Regions from separate parts of the Homo sapiens genome. Here regions 1, 2, 3 and 4 are each linked to region 5. Evidence: promoter capture Hi-C in 16 types of primary human blood cells and fetal thymus (Javierre and others, 2016). All regions are on one chromosome and are shown on one strand. Each heading gives the region's core, a stretch centred on a gene start or on the middle of the fragment in contact. The rest is flanking DNA. Distances are from core to core; before and after follow the strand shown.

Region 1 (2,700 bases), core at 108-2,607, 320 kb after region 5:
TTTCCTGAGATGGAAACTTCTCCGGTGAAGATGCTCTGAACATTGCTGAAATGACAATAAAAGATCTAAAATTTTACATAAACTTAGTTTATAAAGCAGTATGCAGGGTCTGAGAGTATTGATTCAATTTTGAAAGAAGTTCTACTGTGAGTAAAATGCTGTCAAACAGCACTGCATGCTACAGATAAATATTTTGTGAAACAAAGAGTCAATTGATACAGCAACTTCAACGTTATATTTTAAGAAACTGACACAGCCACCTCAACCTTCAGCAACTACTACCCTGATCAGTCAGTAGCCATCAATATGGAGGCAAGACCTTCCACCAACAAAAAGATTACAACTTGCTAAAGGCTCGGATGATAGCTAGCATTTTTTGGCAATAAAAATTTTTAAATTAACTTATGTCCATTGGGTTCTTTAGACTTACTTCTGTTGCACACTTACTGGACTATAGTAGCGTGTAAATCTAACTTTTGTATGCACTGAGAAACCAAAAAATCCATGACTTGCTTTGAGACATTCGCTTTATTGTGGTGGTCTGGAACCAAACCCACAGTATCTCTGAGGTATGCCTATTAAGACCTTCCCAAACAAACAAAAATAGGAGAAAATTTGTTGCCAGTAAACCTGCCTTGCAAAAAATGTTAAAAGAAGTTTTTCAGAGAGGATAATAATATAGGTCAGAAATTTTGCTTCACATAAAGAAGAGCATCAGAGAAGGAATAAGTGAAGGTAAACAAAAAAGAACTTATTTTTCTCTACTTAATTGGTTGAATATACAACAGTTTGTTAAAAATAATAATAGCAGGCTGGGCACAGTGGCTCACGCCTGTAATCCCAGCACTTTGGGAGGCCAAGGTGGGCGGATCACGAGGTCAGGAGATTGAGACCATCCTGGCTAACACAGTGAAACCCCAGATCTACTAAAAATACAAAAAATTAGTGGGGCGTGGTGGCGGGCGCCTGTAATCCCAGCTACTCAGGAGGCTGAGGCAGAAGAATGGCGTGAACCCAGGAGGCAGAGGTTGCAGTGAGCTGAGATCGCACCACTGCACTCCAGCCTGGGCTACAGAGTGAGACTCCGTCTCAAATAAATAAATAAATAAATAAAAATAATGGCAATAATGTATTTAGTGATTGTAACTTATGGATAACCTTGCACTATCCATGAGGCAGTATAGTGTTATTCAAAAGTAGATTTGGATTAGATGCAAATGTATATTGAAAATGCCAGAGCAACCACTAAAAAAAAGTAAGTAAATAAATAAGTATACTATAGGTGATATGCTAAGGAGAAAAAAAATGGAACCACACAAAATGCTCAGTTAAACCACAGAAGAGTGGAAGAATAAAAAACAATGAATAGAATGCAGTAATATGGAAGATATTAATCCAACAATATCAATAATTAAACATCAATTGTCATTAACACAAAAAGAGATTGTCAGAGTGGATCAAAAGACCCAACTATATATTGTCTACAAGAAACGCACTTTAAATATAAAGACATATCAAGATTAAACATAAAGGGATGGAGAAAGATATAATAACTCGAATCAAAAGAAAACTCAGTAGCTACATTAATTTTAGATACAGCAGACTTCAAAGCAAGGAATGTTATCACAGATAAAGACGGACTTTACATAATGATAAAAGGAGTCAATTCTTCAAGAAGACAGAACAATCCTTAAAGCGTATGCACCGAACAACAGAGCATTAAAATACACGAGGCACAAACTTATAAAACTCCAAGGAGAAATAGAGGAATACACTATTATAGTTGGAAACTTCAACACTTATCAGTAATGGACAGATTCAGCAGCCAGAAAATCAGTAAAGACATAGTTGAACTCAACAGCACTATCAATCAACTGGATATAAATGGCATCTATAAAATACTTCATCCAACAACAGCAGACGACACATTCTTCTCAAGCTCACATGGAACATTCACCAAGACAGACCACATTCTTGGCCATAAAACACACCTCAACAAATTTAAAAATAAAAATCATACAATGTCTGCTCTCAAATCCCTCAGTAAAATTAAACTAGATACCAGTAACAGAAAGGTAGTTTGAAGATCCCCAAGTACTGGGAGATTAAACAACACACTTGTAAATAACACTTGGATCAAAGAAGAAATCTTGAGAGATCTCAAAGACAATATTGTCAATATGTTAGTTCTTCCTAACTTCATCTATAGATTCAATGTAATCTCAAGGGAACTTGCAGCAAACTCTCTGTGAACATTGACAGATTGATACTAACATTTACATGGGGAGGCAAAAGACCCAGAGTAGCCAACACAATATTGAAGGAAAACTAAGTCAGAGTACTGACACTACTTGACTTCATGCCTTACTATAAACTTCCAGTAATCAAGATAGTGCAGTATTGGCAAAAGAACAGACAGGTCAATAGAACGGAATAGTGAACACAGAAATAGATAGCCACAAATATAGTCAACTGATCTTTGACAAAGGAGCAAAGGCAACATAATGGAGAAAAGACAGTCTTTTCAACAAACAGTGCTGAAGCAACTGGACATCTGCATGCAAAAATAATCTGCATGCAAAAATAAATACATAAATCTAGACACTACCTTATACTTTTCAGAAAAACTCCAAAACACTGATAACAGCAAATGATTCCAAGGATGTGGATGGGAATGCAATATGGTATAGCCACATTGAA
Region 2 (2,700 bases), core at 128-2,627, 330 kb after region 5:
TATACCCTCATCTCTCCAGATAGCATTACCTGTCGTCTGCTGTTTTGTCACCTGCTCATGTCCTCTCCTCTCTGCCATTTCCTTCTCCACTGCACCTCCTACCCCAAGCTGACCCCATCAGGTGAGGTCGGCAGAAAACAGAAGCCTAATTCAAACCATTGCACTATGTTACTGTATCTCATAACTAAAAATATTAACATTAAAAAAGTTAGACATCTTTAACTACCTGAACCTCACATTTTTCATTTGACCGATGACTATTATAGCAACAGTCCTTAGTACCTCAAAGTTTGTTATTGTGACTAGAACATGAAAGAACTAAAAAAGTAAAACTTTAAATGAATGTAAACCATTATTGAGATGTAAGGGTGGTAATAGGTATAGGTACTATTTCACATTAAAGTAAAAGTACAGTAATAGGAAAAATGATGTACTATCCTGGCCACTCTAAATATTTTTACTATATTAATATGGTTTTCAGAAAAATTTTAGTATAAGATAACGGCTGTCATTTTTGCCTATCAGCTCAGCTTTAGTTTTGAGTTTAATTCATTCAGGCTAGAAAACCACGGCAATGATCAAAGATATAATTATAACATATTTATAGCCTATTATTATTGTAACATTCTGAAGCAAAGGGCAAAAATTCCACCCAGTGAACTTGTTCTTCCTGTTACTGACACAAGATTGAGACATTTAAATGCTAAGACATGGATCCCTGAGGCAGAACATAAAATATTTATAATGAAGGGAGTATGAGCCAATAAATTTCAGTTATGAATGTTTTTAGCTAGAAGAAATAATAAATAACTTTCCACAGGCAATATTTCAGTTTGCATTTATTGTACCTCATCATACCAGATTTTCAGGAAACAATAATGATTGCATAGTAGGACACTAAATTACTCTCATGTTTAATGAACGATTAAACTGTTAAGCTTTGATTAAGATACAAGAGCCTCCCTAATTTGACTGTGAGAAGTGGTTTCCTTGGAAAGGTATAGATCGTGATAATACCAATAAAGAGATTTTAATTTATATACTTTCTATTGAATAAAAGTAATTTCAGATATAAGTAAGCCATGTAAAAGGATTACCAAACTCATAGGTTTAGGGAAGAAGGGAAAGGAGAGCATTTAAGTAATAGGGAAATGAATTATGTACTTGGGATGTCTTATCTCTAATCCATTTAAACAGTTTTAAAATTGGGTTGGGAAAATGGCCTAAATTACACACAATGATACATAAAAATTGCTAGGACAAGTCAGGCGCAGTGGCTCTTGCTTGTAAACCTAGCACTTTGGAAGGCCAAGGCAGGAGGATCACTTGAGCTCAAGAGTTTGAGATTAGCCTGAGCAACATAGTGAGCCCTTGTCTCTACAAAAAATTTAAAAGTTAGCTGGGCATGGTTACACGTGCCTGTAGTCCCGGTGACTCCAGAGGCTGAGGTGGGAGGATTGCTTGATCCCAGGAGGTAGAGGCTGAAGTGAGCCATGATTGCATCACTGCACTCCAACCTGGGTGACAGAGAAAGACACTGTTTCAAAAAAATTAAAATTAAGAAAATAAAAATTGCTAGGAGATATTGTGGTACCTGGGAAATAATGCAAGATGAGAGGCAGAAGACTTAAATCAGAGTTCTGCCTTTGTAACTTACTAGCTGTGTGACTCTGTACAAGTCAGTTATCTTGTTAGACTCTCCCGTTTCTTTATTTATGAGACAACAACAAGAAGACATATCTTGCATAGTTGTTGTAAATATGAAGTGAGATATCAGCCTGGGCTCTCCAGGAAGCAGAACCTGAGTGCAAGCTTGTTATCGGCTTTTGTGATCCTGGAAAAAGGTAGGAATGAGGGACAGGGAAACCAGGCCAAGAAGGAGAGAGAGCCAATGACTTGCCAGTAGATGGTGGTTATAAGTGCCACTTTCCCAATCACGAAGAGATTGAGAACTGTCACATGAAATGTCAATCAGGATCATCCATCTAGGGGAATAAAAAGATAATTTATTAACTCTTATTTCCTTCCCGCATTGATCACCCATGCAGTGTGTTATGGGCTGAATTGTTTCTGTCCCCGTCCTTGATTTATATGTTGAAGTCTTAACTTTCAATACCTCAGAATGTAACTCTATAGGGTAACTATGTTGGATATAAGGTCTTTAAAGTGGTGATTAAGTTAACATGAGGCCCTTAGGGTAAGCCCTAATCTAATATGACTGGTGTCCCTATATAAAAAGAGGAAATGTGGACACACAGAGGGACACCATGGGGTTTGTATGCAAGAGGGAAAGACCAGGTGGCCATCTGCAAACTAAGGAGAGAAGCCTCAGAAGAAACCAAACCTGCTGACACCTTAATCTTGGACTTCTCGCCTCCAAAACTGTGAGAAAATACATTTCTGATAGTGAAGCCACCCAGCCTGTGGTCTTTTGTTACGGCAGCCTTAACAAACTGATAGAGGGTGTTAACTTTCCCACACTCTGGGTGGTACATGTGTAAATGGAGAGTGGATTTTATTCCTGGTCCCAAGCTGAGGTGTCAACAGAATAGCCCCAAGTGGGAAATGAGAGGTAGATTCTTGGGGTGAAGTGCTGTCATGCTGCACCTAAGCCCTCACAGATCAGGTGGTCAAGTTGGTGTCTGGAACAGGACAGATACAACTAAGAAAACCTGAAAAGGTGCACAAAAGGTATTAATA
Region 3 (2,700 bases), core at 103-2,602, 490 kb after region 5:
TTAATTGCTCATTCACCTCCTACCCTCACTGGTCTATTGACCTGATTCGAAAATGAACTTGAATGCCGAAGATTGTTTGCCAGTTCAACCTTGGAGAAGCTAAAGGAAGCCTCTTACTCTTTCCATTCTTTTCTCCCACTCTAATCTAATCTATTTCTGATTTATATCCAAATGCCATGGAGGATAGAGGTTCATAATTCTGCCAGATGGATTAAACAGATGAATGGAACAAGCCAGCATCTTTCATTCTAACCTTCTTGCTTACTTTGACCTTTTCCCTCACCACCAGTGATATTTCATTCTTTTATAAGAATTTGTTCCAGAGCTTGAGCAACTAGAATCCTGTTGAGGGTTTGGAATCTAAGGAACTGAATTTCAGAATGACTATGAAAAGTTATGTGAGACTCTCAACCCCATTTCAAGGATAAGTCTTCAAAGTCTTTATCATGTTCTTACCTATTGATTCTCTTCATCCTGAGATAGTGTTGACCTCAACCTACTCCCATCTTGTTTCATTTCCTACTCTCCCTTTTAGTCCACTGAAATATGGTGATCATGATTCCTCCACAGGCCCAGGGTGTCTGTGTCTCAAAGTCTTCAGCCACTAGATCATCACCTGAGGCCAGATGGCTACATGTGGAGGTGGTACTCCAGGTGGATTATAGGCAGGCCAAGCACCTTGGTTAGAGACATGGGAAAAGCAGGGGCTCCCAAACATAAGATAAAATGTAAATATTCATAGTAATAACAAATGTTTATTCAAGACTTACTATGTGCCTGGTACTAGTCTAAGCACTGGACATACAGAAGAACTTGGTTAACTTTCACAGCAGTCCTATGACAGATATACTATTATCCTCAGGAGAAAAAGGCACAAAGAGGCTAATTACTGTCCAAGTCACAGAGTGAGTAAGTGGCTCAGCAGGAATTTGGACTCAAGCCATCTGAATCCAGAGTCCAGACTCTTAATCTCACCTTCCAAATAAAAGAATTAGATATTTCAGGGGGAAAAGTATTGAGTAAAATAAGATCCTGGTGGGCCTAGCCATTATTTTCAAGCCTGGAATTATTTTAATATTTAGTTTATCACGGAAGCATATCAGGAAAGCACTAAACTCTCTTCTGTGTTTGGGTTCTAGTGTTTTTAATCTAACCTTGGACTATTATGCTGTGAGGCGTTGGGCAGTTTCTCTGATCCTCAGTTTCTTGTTTTGTATAAAAGGGCATTAAAATATTCATTCTACAGGGGTGTTTGGGAGGACAAAGGTAAAATATTTGCATCATACTGTAGTGCAGTAGCACATTATATATACTGTTGGGCAGTTTCTCTGATCCTCAGTTTCTTGTTTTGTATAAAAGGGCATTAAAATATTCATTCTACAGGGGTGTTTGGGAGGACAAAGGTAAAATATTTGCATCATACTGTAGTGCAGTAGCACATTATATATACTCAGCAAATGATAAGGATAATAAATAATAGCTGTCATTTAATAATTGATTATTAGGTGACAGGCAATGCCTATATATTATCTCAAGTACTCATATGGAGGCACACTTATGGAAAAGCACTATCAAGTTAATAATATTTAAATCCCTATGGTAGGACTTATGTTCCTTTCTGTTTCCTGTTTTTTTTGTTAGCAAGGCTTATTACAGGAGTACTGAGTATCCCCCAAATATTTGACTATGTATACTTCTCTAAAAGAATTATTCCTAGATCACTAACCTTTAAGAAAACAGAAGAGAGTACCATCTGCATGTCAGCCTTATAGAATAGAAACTTTGTACTAGAAAGTATGACTGGCTAATTTAATTCTCTCAGAATGTTTATTCAGGTTTTCTTATAGCTCAGTTTCAAAAGGATTCTGGTCTAAGAATGAATATGTAGAAGGTGTTTGGATTGTTTGTTTTTGGAGTGATTTCTGTTTACAATAAGATGAAAATTTAATGAAAAGAAATGTGATTTTTCTGAAGCACTACTGACATGCTTTAACTCTAACTGGTAGGTATAAATTAATGTGAAAAAGGGCAATACATTTTTAAATCTTACATAAAATGGAGGTATCTAAACTTTATTTCTTCTTTGAGTGCTAGGAAAGCTATAGACAGTAATGAAAATAGTGCTACTGTTCCCTCTGCCAGCATCATTCTTGGAGCTTTGACATTTGAATTCACAAGTTAGCTTTTATTTTTAACAGTTGTTGAAAATATATATTTTTAAACTCAGAAGTAATTCCCTTTTTCCTAGCAATTTACTTGTGGCATTTAGTCGCATGATTTTTACCTTCATTGAATTTTACCTAGAATTATTTGGAAATGTTAACTATCGGGAAAAAAGCATTCCATAATTTCTAATGGGTTATGCCACTAAGTGATCCAATCTAGAACATGAGTGTATGTGTGTGTATTTGTGTGTGTATATTTGTGTGTATGTGTGTGTGTGCATGTGTGTGTATGTTGACATAGTTGTTCTAATTGAGGTAGCTAATTTATTGTTCAGTATTCAAGGGAAAAAGGTATAAATGCAGAAAATGTTCACTATGAACTTGCCAATAATTCAGATATAAATTATTTCATATAGCAGAAGTTCATAAAAATATAGATAGTACAGAACAAAAACCAGTGGAGAAAAAAAACTGAATTAAATTAAGCACCAGCAGCAGCACATTAAATTGCATTAGGATTGACAAGAGAGTTTTC
Region 4 (2,700 bases), core at 73-2,572, 410 kb after region 5:
CCTTCTAATTGATTATTTTGCTCCTTTTTATCCTTTTGCTTCCATTGAGAGAGATCTTTACAGAAAGAAGTCTCATCATAACACTCTCTTATGCAAAACACTTCAAAGTCATAGCATGAAACCTGAATAGAAAATCATGTGTGGGGTACATCACATTCTGTCCCTACTTCCCTATTTAGTCTCTTTACTCTCATCTACTGCCACTCTCCACCTAATAGCCTCAGCTCTATTCAAACTGAATTACTTGGAGCTCCCTAAATATGTCATACTCTTCTTCTCCTCTAAGCTTTTGTGTAGGTTGCAACTCTGCCTAGAACATCTTACCACTTGTCTCTATCTGATGCAGTTTTATTTGCTGTTCAGGAGCCAGTTGAGACATCACCTTTTTTGGGAACCTAACTTTAACCTTTCCCTCCTACTCCTAACCTAAGGCTTTGTTAGATGTGTCTTAGCACCCCATATTTACTCTTTAGTAAATACTTACCCTACTGTGTGAATGAATGATTTAATTACCTTTTTAGCTTATAACTCTATGCAGAAAATAATTATTTAATTAGTCTCATCTACTGCCTATGATGTTTATGTGTCTAGATGTGACAACAACCACAAACCCAAAGGAACAAGTAAATTACACTCAGATCATATCAGACAGTATAAAATGGCACACATGCATAGCAAAGGATATGATTGTTCTGTATTAATCTGATGGATGCTAAGTTATTAGTTAAAACAATTCCTTACTACAGTAGTACTAAAAATAGTTGCATTTTATCCACCTTGTGACTCTGGTGACATCAGAAATGTAGCTTAAAGTTATATTCAAAAGTGTTTTGTTTTCCTTTTTAAAATTGGTTTCCAGCCTCAGAAATTTTTGTTTTATTCCATTGTAGCAATTTCTTTTGTACTGCTATACATATTCTCAAAGTAAAAATGTATCTTTTCCACTTTCTCCTATTTTGTTAGTCTTTGCTTTGGATAACTGAGGCTGACATCAAGGTTTTCAACCATTAGAGTGAAATTGGGTGATTTCCCTTTTGCAGTAAGGAATTTGCTACATATTCAATATTTTCTAAAAATTCAGTTTTGGTTCTAAGCATTTAAGGCAAGATGATTCAATTCTCTTTTAACACAGTTTTATTTTTATTAACTCAATTATTTTTGCAAAGTTTTTATTTGCTCTCTTTGTTAGTGGGACAGTTGATTGTCTTATTGATTTTTTATTTCTTCTCTTCTGGTGGAAAGTGACTATTTCTCTCTTGGAGAGGCATGTGTTCCAAATATTTATTGATGTAAAACAAACCACCTCATCTTAGTGGTATAAACAATAATCATTTTATGATCACAGATTATGTGTTTCAGAAATTGAGAAAGGGTACAGCGAGTGTCTTAATTGGTCCTGTGCTGCCATAATAGAATATGACAAACTGGATAAATTTTTTTTTTAAAAGAAGTGTATTTGGCTCATGATTCTGAAGGCTGGGAAGCCTAAGATCAAGGGCCCATAGCTGGTAAGGGCCTTCTTGCTATGTCATAACATGGCAGGAGGGCAAGTGAGCATTGTAGACAGAAAGAGGAAATCAGGCCAAACCCATCCTTTTATCAAGAGCCCACTCCCAGGACAACTAAGCCACTCTAGAGGTAATGGCATTAATCCATTCATGAGGGCAGAGGCCTCATGACCTAATCACCTCTTAAAGACCCTACCTTTCAGTACTGTTACAATTGTAATTAAATTTCAACATGAATTATGTAGGAGACAATCAAACTGTACCTATAAGCATGGCTTGTTTGGGGCTTCAAATGAAAAAATTCAGAGAAGATTAGATAGCTGGGGAATGGATTAATTTTTAGACTTCTTTACTCACATTTCTGGGGGTTGATGTTGACTATTTGGAGGACTTTAGCTGGTAGTGTTGGTCAGAACAAGATGAGGTAACCCCAACATGGGTAAGATTGGACCTCTTCACACTGTGGTGGCAGTGTTCATAGAAATAATGTTTCAAAAATACCAACCAACCAACCAAACAAAAAACAAATAAACAAACAAAAAACCAAGATGGAAATGCATGGCATTTTTATGATCTGATCATGGAAATCGTTTCAACATACTCTTTTGGGGGATGTGCTCACAAATGTCAGCTGAAATTCAAAGGGAGGAGACTTAGACCTCACCATTAGCTGTCACATTGTAAGAAGAGTCTGTCAGATGAGTTATATTGCAGTGGCCCTCTTTGGAAATTACAATGTCTCAGCATACATTCAATACAATATAGCTTCTGGCAAGGCAAATGTATCATTGTGAATCTGTTTAATTTCAGCTTTAATTTCAGGCATTTAAAAAGCGTTTCTAAAGCTTTTATTTAGGATGATACAAGTAATAGGTATTCATTTAAAAAAGCTTGAAAAATACACAGAAGGAATAAAGTAGAACTATTTGCCACGATTTACTTGCTAACAATTTTCTAATGTCAATGATTTTTTTCATGTGTCAGTTACTTTAGATAATGCCATAATAAACATTTTTTTCATAAATCTTTGACTACTTCTTGATTTCCGTAACATGTATTTCTAGAGGTGAAATTACTACAACAATGGTGTTTATAATCATTGTACAGAAAAACAACCCTCAACCACAGCCAGTATTTGTTTTCATTAATACATTGTTTAATAATTTGTTGGCAGTATATTATAGGTGTCTTA
Region 5 (2,700 bases), core at 1-2,500:
ATCTGTGATATGGTTTCTCAGGAACACCGTTTGGCAGTCCTGATAATTTCATGTGTTTTCAAATTTCAGCCATCCAGACTACACAGTTCACTATTTTCAGCTCCTTTCATTTTCCTTTTCCCTTTAATTATAGAAGTCTCTATTCCCTCTTTTCGCAAATGTGGTCAGGAAAGATACTAAATGCTACTATTTGTAGAAAGAATATGCATTTGTTTTTCTCTTGACGGTTCACTTAAGTTCTTTCCAAATAAACAAGCTGTGGTTGATAGTGATAGGTAACACTTCAAGGGTAGCAACTTTTTGTACTCATCCGTTCCTTTGACTTTGGAAGACGTGGCACATGCCCCGGGGGAGAAAAAGCAAGTCAACACTTTAGTTTTTAAACTTGCACTGTTAAAGCACTTTCAAAATAGTAATAGTTGAGCTTCATCTCAGACATGAATGTCTTTCTCAGTCTATTCCCCAGGACCCCTCTTATCCCGCTTCAGGTCCCGGTCAATGCGGTGCGCTTTCCGAAATGGGGCCGCAGAGTTGCCGGCGGAGACCAGTAGGTGGGAGGCTCCACGCACACTCCCCGACTCGGCCGGGACGCGGCTCCCGGACTCCGCGCAGGGCGCCAAGATCGCCGCCCCGCTCCCTTCCCCCGGCCTCCCCACCAATCCCAGTTTGAAAGAAAACTTCACGCGGCCGAAATGAACGTCACCTCACCGCTCCAAGCCTCCAGCCGGCAGAAAACGTGAGATTTATTATGACACGGGGAGGGGAGATGGGGGTCGCCGTGGCACACTCGGAAGCGGGTTACCTGGCCCCCGTCGGGGGCGGGGTCCGCAGTCCGGGGACCAACGGGCTGGGGGCGACGCGGCCGGGCGCGCGGGTGGGCGCGAGGGAGTGCGCGCGTCGCGGAGCCTCCGGGGCAGCACTTGTCCTGTAATCGATTGCCGAGCGCGCCGAGCGGCTTAGCGCGCAGACACGCGCACACGCGCCCGCCAGCCCGCGCGCGCGCGCACACGCGCTCTCATACACACACGCACAGGCGCTCGGGCCCCGCACACACGCACGCGCGCGCACGCACGTCCGCTCGCCCGCGCCCGGGGCTCCGCTGCCCGCCGCCAGCCGCCCGCCGCCGCCGCCGCCGCAGCCGCCGCCAGCCCGCCCTCCGCCCGCGGGCGTCTGCGCGAGCCCGGCCGGCGGGGGAGATGTGCTCGGGCTCCACCGGATCGGTTTCTCGGGGTTTGACCAGCTGTCCCGGGCTAACCCTGCTCCTCGCTGAAGATGGAGGAAGTAAAAACAGGATTACCCTTAGCTACAGATCCACTGCCTTAGTTTCCACCACCAACTGCAGTGCACAAACACACGTTAGGCACAGGAAAGAAAGAAAGACAGAGGACACATTAACAGTAAACACAAACAAAAGGGTGATGGGATTATTTTACTGCATGCACTGCTGAGGTAAATCTCCGCTTGGCTTTTGCGTGGTGAAGAACAGCTCTTGTTTTGTCTTCTGATTCATAGATTATATATAAATATGTGTATGATTTGCAAAGGGGGGAGTGTTTTCAAAGTTAAGTGTAATTATATAGCATCTCGTTTTGCACTGTGATGTGATCAAATGACTTGTTGCTGTTAACCAGTAATAATAATAATAATATAGGTATTTTTCTCTGGGAGGGATGGATTGTGGTTCTGATTAGGGTAATGATTTTTGTAAAGGACGCTCAGGGAATCGGGTTGAAGATGATGTCCTCTGCCTTAATTTATCGTCCCCTCCTTGTAATCTGTTTCTGGGATGTTAATCGATTAATCAGTTCTCATCTCTATAGCTGTCATGAATTTGGACTTGTTTTGCTTTGTTTTAACTTGAATTCCAAGAAGAAAGATTGGGTAGGCTGGAATAAATTGAAGCTGTCCAGATAGAAGGTAATATCCAGATCCTGTTGGAATTAAAAAAAAAAAAAAACCAAAAACCCTGGTATGACACATGTAAACAGGCAGCAGTTAAATCACTTTGACAGGTTCTAGTATGGGCGAAAGAGATGGAATTAAGATTTATTTATTTTTTTTCTTTTTTGCCAAGGGCCAAAAACAGTCCTGTGAAGTTGGCCTGGGTTCCTAGCTGGGTTCTGCCTGACTGTCCCTCCCCTCTACCCGCCCCCCCCCCCTTTTCTTTCAGTTTTCTTGTCTTAGCTTTTGGTCGATTCTTAAGGAACCGGTGGATCAAGTTTTTTCTCTTGTTAATCGCATTGCTATAGCACTGACTGACCTCTCTCTCTCTCTTTTTTTTCCTCTTTCCTGAAAGTACGTGGTGCCATTCCTGAGTGACTTTTCCTACTAGACCATCCCTAAGGGACGAGGGGGAGGGGTGGAAGGAGGAGGAGGAGGAGGACGAGGAGGAGGAGGAGGAGGAGGGGGGTGTTCTTCTCTCTCATTTCTTGGTTTTGTTTATCAGCCGATCTGTTTGCTGGATTTGGGCTTGGAATGACCCACCTGTAAAGTGCTTTTCCTTCCTCCTCCCCTTGAACTCTGCAGGGGGCTTGGCTTGGAGGGGGCAAGGGAGGGAAAGAGAGAAGGGGGAAACACAAAAAACTTCTTTCTTTCTCCCTCCGTTTATCTTCAGCCCGACATTGTCACCTCCTCTTTGAGGGGTTAGAAGAAGCTGAGATCTCCCGACAGAGCTGGAAATGGTGATGAATCTTTTTTAAT

Evidence for each region. The method cuts DNA at HindIII sites, captures the fragments that hold promoters and counts their contacts. A CHiCAGO score of 5 or more calls a contact.
Region 1: a contact is called between a fragment that was not itself captured here and the fragment with the promoter of IKZF2 in region 5, in 2 of 17 cell types (total B cells and M0 macrophages). The highest score is 5.6, in total B cells.
Region 2: a fragment that was not itself captured here is called in contact with the fragment with the promoter of IKZF2 in region 5 in 7 of 17 cell types (total B cells, M0 macrophages, erythroblasts and 4 more); the score reaches 10.4 in total B cells.
Region 3: a fragment that was not itself captured here is called in contact with the fragment with the promoter of IKZF2 in region 5 in 1 of 17 cell types (erythroblasts); the score reaches 5.1 in erythroblasts.
Region 4: a fragment that was not itself captured here is called in contact with the fragment with the promoter of IKZF2 in region 5 in 2 of 17 cell types (erythroblasts and naive B cells); the score reaches 6.2 in erythroblasts.

The regions. Positions count from the first base shown.
Region 1 is chr2:212,835,242-212,837,941 of GRCh38, reverse strand. No RefSeq gene overlaps it. Among named protein-coding and RNA genes, the nearest start is that of LINC01878, 41 kb to the right of the region's middle. The HindIII fragment of the contact is 5,538 bases long and covers 1-2,700 here.
Region 2 is chr2:212,816,208-212,818,907 of GRCh38, reverse strand. LINC01878 (long intergenic non-protein coding RNA 1878) reads right to left here. Exons shown (of 5, transcript NR_131941.1): 3 at 1,901-1,985; 4 at 1,420-1,517. Among named protein-coding and RNA genes, the nearest start is that of LINC01878, 22 kb to the right of the region's middle. The HindIII fragment of the contact is 874 bases long and covers 941-1,814 here.
Region 3 is chr2:212,664,358-212,667,057 of GRCh38, reverse strand. No RefSeq gene overlaps it. Among named protein-coding and RNA genes, the nearest start is that of ERBB4, 130 kb to the right of the region's middle. The HindIII fragment of the contact is 4,092 bases long and covers 1-2,700 here.
Region 4 is chr2:212,743,021-212,745,720 of GRCh38, reverse strand. No RefSeq gene overlaps it. Among named protein-coding and RNA genes, the nearest start is that of LINC01878, 51 kb to the left of the region's middle. The HindIII fragment of the contact is 2,067 bases long and covers 289-2,355 here.
Region 5 is chr2:213,150,162-213,152,861 of GRCh38, reverse strand. IKZF2 (IKAROS family zinc finger 2) reads left to right here and starts at 1,250. Exons shown (of 9, transcript NM_001387220.1): 1 at 1,250-1,449; 2 at 2,615-2,700. RefSeq lists silencers at 660-1,019, 1,100-1,159. The HindIII fragment of the contact is 7,158 bases long and covers 1-2,700 here.